Regions from separate parts of the Homo sapiens genome. Here region 2 is linked to region 1. The links are contacts of gene promoters, found by promoter capture Hi-C in human tissues and cell types (Jung and others, 2019). All regions are on one chromosome and are shown on one strand. The core of a region is centred on a gene start or on the middle of the fragment in contact, and the rest is flanking DNA. Distances in the headings are between cores, read along the strand shown. Region 1 holds the start of NPBWR1 (neuropeptides B and W receptor 1). Region 2 has its middle 79 kb from the start of NPBWR1.

What was found. Contacts are between HindIII fragments. The study calls those that stand out against the background at their distance.
Region 2: a fragment that was not itself captured here is called in contact with the fragment with the promoter of NPBWR1 in region 1 in 2 of the 25 tissues and cell types used here (pancreas and spleen).

What each region holds. Positions count from the first base shown.
Region 1 is chr8:52,937,558-52,940,693 of GRCh38, forward strand. It overlaps NPBWR1 (neuropeptides B and W receptor 1), which reads left to right and starts at 1,625. Exons shown (of 2, transcript NM_005285.5): 1 at 1,625-1,809; 2 at 2,154-3,136. The coding sequence starts at 2,351. RefSeq lists enhancers at 1,800-2,431, 2,432-3,063. The HindIII fragment of the contact is 16,506 bases long and covers 1-3,136 here.
Region 2 is chr8:52,858,269-52,861,567 of GRCh38, forward strand. No RefSeq gene overlaps it. Among named protein-coding and RNA genes, the nearest start is that of NPBWR1, 79 kb to the right of the region's middle. The HindIII fragment of the contact is 5,247 bases long and covers 1-3,299 here.

The DNA.
Region 1 (3,136 bases), core at 375-2,874:
GGACAGTGGATCCCCCTGTCAGTGGTTTTGGAGTCCCTAGTTTCAGTTACTCGTGGTCAACTGTGGTCTAAAAATATTAAACAGAAAATTCCAGGAATAAACAGTTCCTAGGTTTTCAATTGTGTTGACTTCTGATTGGCGTGATGAGATCCAGCCATCTTACTCCTTCCCACAGAAAGTGAGTCCTCCCTTTGCCCAGCGTTTCCCTGCTGTCTACAATATCCACCTGTTAGTCACTTCACAATCTGGGTTATTAGATGACTGTGGCAATGACCAGTGTGGTGTCTTCAAGTTGCCTTGATTTTACTGACTTTTTGCCCTTATTTCTCTCTGGCTCCAAAGTGCAAGAGAAGTGATGCTGGCAATTCAGATATGCCAAAGAGAAGCTGCAAATGCCTCCTTTAAGTTAAAAGGTAAAAATTCTGGACTTAATAAGGAAAGAAAAAAAATCATATGCAGAGGTTGCCAAGATCTACTAAAAACAAATCTATCCACGAAAATGTGAAGAAGAAAAAAGAAATGCATGCTAGTTTTGCTGTTGCATCATTTTTGGATGGAAGAACAGAAACATGTTCCCATTGACCGCAATGGGTACTATCCATGGTTTCAGGCATCCACTGGGGCTCTTGGAACCTATCCCCCATAGGTATGGGGGGGCTACTGTATTTCTGGCCCCACAGTCTTCTACTGCCGACTTTAGGTCTCTCTGGATCTCAGGCCCCCTTCTCTAAGATGCATCCTAGAGGACCAAAAATACACTTTATTTGGGCTTCGCCTGCTTTTGTGGAAGGGTAGTTTACTAGAGGATATAATCTCGTGTTTTAATTTGCTCTCTCTCCTAAAGGAAATGTGGAGAAAAAAAAAAAGCAGAAATTGGAAATAACCAATATTTAGTTTATTTCATTCGATTCTTAGGGGAACTGGTGAGGAGCCTAAGATGATTTTCCCTTCCTAGAGAAAGAATCCAAAGTCCAGGGAAATAGCGACAGGGGAGTTCAAGACTGCCCCTGCTAGTCCTTCCTTGGCTACTCTCCGCTGCGATCGCAGGATAGCTCTCATTAGCAGGAGAATCGGGCAAGTGTGTGGATAAGTAGAGAGTGTGTTGAACAACTTGTAACGTTTTATGAAATACGCATTGTCATGGTTCCCTAAAAGGCTTTGCGGAAGCCGTTTGTCTTTACTAATCAAGTCTTTACTTACACAAAAGTAGAAGTAGAAGTAGTTTTAGAAAACATACTAACAATCTTCTATCCCCTTGAAGACCAGAGTAGCAGAAAACAGGTGATTTGCATTATAAAATTGCACTCACTTTTTCCTCCTTTCAGATTTCACATTACATTAGCCTATTTGTGTTACGGTGTATAAAAAATGGAACAGGCGCCTCCACTACATTGTTCTCCTTTAAAAATAGATCACTTACACCCTAACTTTGTTTTCCTTAAATTCGATTCTTAACAGGAGAGCTTTCTATTATTTCAGATGGAGTGAGGTTGCACGACTGGGATGGAAGAAAGGAATCCCTTAAATTTGGGGGAATTTCTGTTCTCTGTTCTAAGACCATTTTACTTGGGGTGTGGGGGTGGGCGCGGCGGTCAGGGCAGTGGAACGCAGTCGCGGCTGCGCCATCCCTGCACTTCCAGGCGCGCGGGAGGGACCGGCGGGGACGCGAGCTGCGGACTCTGGCGAACTCGGGGGAGGCAGACAGGGGGAGGCGGACACCCAGCCGGCAGGCGTCTCAGCCTCCCCGCAGCCGGCGGGCTTTTCTCCTGACAGCTCCAGGAAAGGCAGACCCCTTCCCCAGCCAGCCAGGTAAGGTAAAGACTGCTGTTGAGCTTGCTGTTACTGAGGGCGCACAGACCCTGGGGAGACCGAAGCTTGCCACTGCGGGATTCTGTGGGGTAACCTGGGTCTACGGAAGTTTCCTGAAAGAGGGGAGAAGGGTTTGCATTTTTCCTATGGAGGATTCTTCTCTCTCTAGCATTTCGTTTGATGTATTCAACTGGTAGAAGTGAGATTTCAACAGGTAGCAGAGAGCGCTCACGTGGAGGAGGTTTGGGGCGCCGCGGCGCCACCCCCACCCCTCCTCGGGACCGCGCCTATTTCTAAAGTTACACGTCGACGAACTAACCTATGCTTTAAATTCCTCTTTCCAGCCCCGTGAGTCCGCGGCGACATTGGGCCGTGGGGTGGCTGGGAACGGTCCCCTCCTCCGGAAAAACCAGAGAACGGCTTGGAGAGCTGAAACGAGCGTCCGCGAGCAGGTCCGTGCAGAACCGGGCTTCAGGACCGCTGAGCTCCGTAGGGCGTCCTTGGGGGACGCCAGGTCGCCGGCTCCTCTGCCCTCGTTGAGATGGACAACGCCTCGTTCTCGGAGCCCTGGCCCGCCAACGCATCGGGCCCGGACCCGGCGCTGAGCTGCTCCAACGCGTCGACTCTGGCGCCGCTGCCGGCGCCGCTGGCGGTGGCTGTACCAGTTGTCTACGCGGTGATCTGCGCCGTGGGTCTGGCGGGCAACTCCGCCGTGCTGTACGTGTTGCTGCGGGCGCCCCGCATGAAGACCGTCACCAACCTGTTCATCCTCAACCTGGCCATCGCCGACGAGCTCTTCACGCTGGTGCTGCCCATCAACATCGCCGACTTCCTGCTGCGGCAGTGGCCCTTCGGGGAGCTCATGTGCAAGCTCATCGTGGCTATCGACCAGTACAACACCTTCTCCAGCCTCTACTTCCTCACCGTCATGAGCGCCGACCGCTACCTGGTGGTGTTGGCCACTGCGGAGTCGCGCCGGGTGGCCGGCCGCACCTACAGCGCCGCGCGCGCGGTGAGCCTGGCCGTGTGGGGGATCGTCACACTCGTCGTGCTGCCCTTCGCAGTCTTCGCCCGGCTAGACGACGAGCAGGGCCGGCGCCAGTGCGTGCTAGTCTTTCCGCAGCCCGAGGCCTTCTGGTGGCGCGCGAGCCGCCTCTACACGCTCGTGCTGGGCTTCGCCATCCCCGTGTCCACCATCTGTGTCCTCTATACCACCCTGCTGTGCCGGCTGCATGCCATGCGGCTGGACAGCCACGCCAAGGCCCTGGAGCGCGCCAAGAAGCGGGTGACCTTCCTGGTGGTGGCAATCCTGGCGGTGTGCCTCCTC
Region 2 (3,299 bases), core at 438-2,937, 79 kb before region 1:
TCCCAAAGTGTTGGGATTACAGGCATGAGCCATCGCTCCCGGCCCCAAGTTCCCCTTTTATAGCCACACCTACTTCCCATCTGCTCCCAGCCTCCCCCTCTTTTTAAAATGTTTGTCAACCAGTAATCAGTTCTATAGTTTTCTCATTTCAAGTATGTTACATATGGAATCATACAGTATGTAACCTTTGGAGACTGGCTCCTTACTCAGCATAAATTTTGTAGATTCATCCAGGTTGTAGAATCTATCAACAGTTTGTTCCTTTTTGTTGCTGACTGGTATTTCCATTGTATAGACTGTGAACATTGTCAGAATCAAAATGGAGTTACTCATGTTAAAAAAAAAAGTCCAACCTTGGACTGGCATTACCATTGTTATTGATCTTTATAGCAAGAATAATCATTTCAAAACAATTATGTTATTCTCCTCATTTTTCCTTTAAAAACCTTTGTCATTCTTTACTTCCCTGAATACACACATAGTTAACTATGGTAACTGTATTCCCATCACAAGGCTCTAGTCCCAAATAAACATCATTTTCTTTCAGAAAGCATCTCTCTGTTTGTTATTTATGTTGACATAAATGGTGTTCAGAAGTGGGACCTAGAGTAGGATCCCATTTGGATGAGTCAGAGATTCTTGGAACCAGTTTGCAGTACTTGAGCCTCTCTGCTTCCATGGCTCTCTGCTTCCATGGCTCACCTTTCCTGTCCTGGAGAGTCTTCTCTCAGCCGAGGAGTCCTCTTTTGGGTAGAAGCTCTTGACTTTGTCTGCATGAGGCCACCTTACTAAAGAACCATACATTCCTCCTGGGATGATAAAAGACTTTTTGTCTTTTCTGGTAAGTCTTTTCTGATATAAAGACAAGTGTCCTCTGGGTTGAGCACTCTTGTTTCTATAATTTACATTTTGTCTGTGAGGCATGGCATTTCTGGTGAATTCACTTTTGGTTATGTACCTAGATTAAAATTTTGGTTAATTTGAAAGCCTGGGTTAACATTTTTGTGAACACTATTATCTTGGTTTCTTTTGATTTGGTTTGACTCTTCTCCTTTGCTTGTTTCCACAAATTTTCTGAGAGTAATCATAAACATAGTAAATGGTGGGCACAAGATGGCTAATTAAAAGCCACTAGGTGGTTGACTCCCTCTAAAACACTGGTCCAAACTCCTGAGGTCCTCTGACAGGATTTATAGGATTTTCTTTGCTTTTGTGAAGTTAATAAGAAATGGAATGGGATTCTCAAACATTAAGGCATGCCAGGTTTCCTGGGACTCCAGCCAGCTACATATTATGGCCTGTTCTTCCCATTTTAAAACTGATGGGCAAAATTACATCAAGAAAAATTCAGAGCTCAAATGGCCATTATTCAAATTCTCTAAAAAACTTCTAACTATAGAGTTGGTATTGTGATTTCATGACTAAAATTCTAAAATTAAAGGTATAAGATCTTTGTGCATATGTATAAATGTTTAGGTGTGTTTATGCACATATACATGTGTTATGTTATGTGTTGTATCTACATGGTAAAATCTGGCACAGCCAGAAATGCTCTAGGAATTTTATTTAGATTGGCTTAGGTAAATAAATACTCATATAAAATATATAGTAATTAACCCAAAATGGCTCTTTAGCTTACGTGACTTAAGCTGGCTTTAAAATTATTAACAAGATAGAAATATCTTCAGAATTGTCTGCATACAGTTTTGCTGGTCATGTGGCTTTATATTAGTTTCTGTTGGATGTTGACACACAGATGATGAAACTGTAAACCCAGCCTAAACAGAATGACCTTTCCTTTTGCAATTTTTTTGATACTTAAGACTAATTTAATATTGTTGTTTTAATGAAAACAACTGTATCTTCCGAGTTATTGGCAAAATGTCCATCTATTTAACTTTAAAGTTTTTACTTAGATGAACACCTGATATTCACAGGCTCTAAAGATGGTTAACAGAAATAATTCCAAACGATGACTAGCTTTGTTTAATATCTCAGTTTCCACAAGTAATCTAGGTAAACTATTAAAAATAAATAAATCAGGTAAATGTAAATGGTATAAGCATTTATAAGTAAACTTTTTATGTAATTAAAAAATTTAAAGCTCTGTTGCGTTAAATTACGTAATAAATACTCATTAAATGTCTAGGTCATTTCGAAATAAGATAAAAACGAAAACAAATTGGTGATCATAAATAAGTTTGATTTTTGTCCCTGAGATTTTATATAAAGACTAAATATATTTAGATCTATTAATACTTACATTTAGATCTAAGTATATTTGGATGAAGTATTTTGAACCCTTTGACATCTTTGGAAAGCTTCTCCAGGATTAAAATTCTAAGTGAAGCCTGTTACACCTAAAATTAACTTTGGGCCCCTGGAGAGCCTCAAAGAATGTGTCTCTCATTTTGCAGCGATATTAAATGATTAGACTTATTTGGTAAATTGTATGGGAAGCATTGTCAAATGATAAGCGATACTAGATCTTCTTTCAGTTACACTTATGGATATATTACTGATATAATGTTTCAAAAATTTTTATATAAATTCATAAAAATCTAATATGTTATCAGTCATAATTTTAGTTGTTAATGTTAAATCTTTTTTCAAAATGATATTTTTATGGATATGTTATTTATGTGAATATCCTAAAGATTACATAAAATGTATAAGTCTGATGGTCCTAATGTGACATTGTCAGTCATAATTCTGATTATCTTTATGCCACAGGTAATAAAAATAACTAAATTTCATTGTAAGTGTGAACTTTGATCAGTTTTTTTATCATAGTATCTTCAGTTATTGTTATCCACAGTTACTGTTTTGAATTCTTCTTTAAATGGCTTTGTAATCAGCTATAGTCCAAAATTGCTTTTCATGGAGAAGTCTAACAAGTACCCTCGAACACCGATTTCTGGTAATGTTAAGATCAATGGATGAAATAAAAATATTCAGAACTGTAATATAGAAACTGATCAAGCAAAATAAAATTTAATTACATGAAATCAAATAACTGATTAAGATCTTGTTTTTTTTTTTTTTTGAGATGGAGTTTTGCTCTGTCACCCAGGCTGGAGTGCAGTGGCAATATCTCAGCTCACTGCAAACTCCGCCTCCTGGGTTCAAGTGATTCTCCTTCCTCAGCGTCCTGAGTAGCTGGGATTACAGGCATCCACCACCATGCCTGGCTAATTTTTGTATTTTTAGTAGAGACGGAGTTTCACCATGTTGTCCAGGCTGGTCTCGAACTCCTGACCTCAGGTGATCTGCTCTCCTCAGCCTCCCAAAGTGCTGGG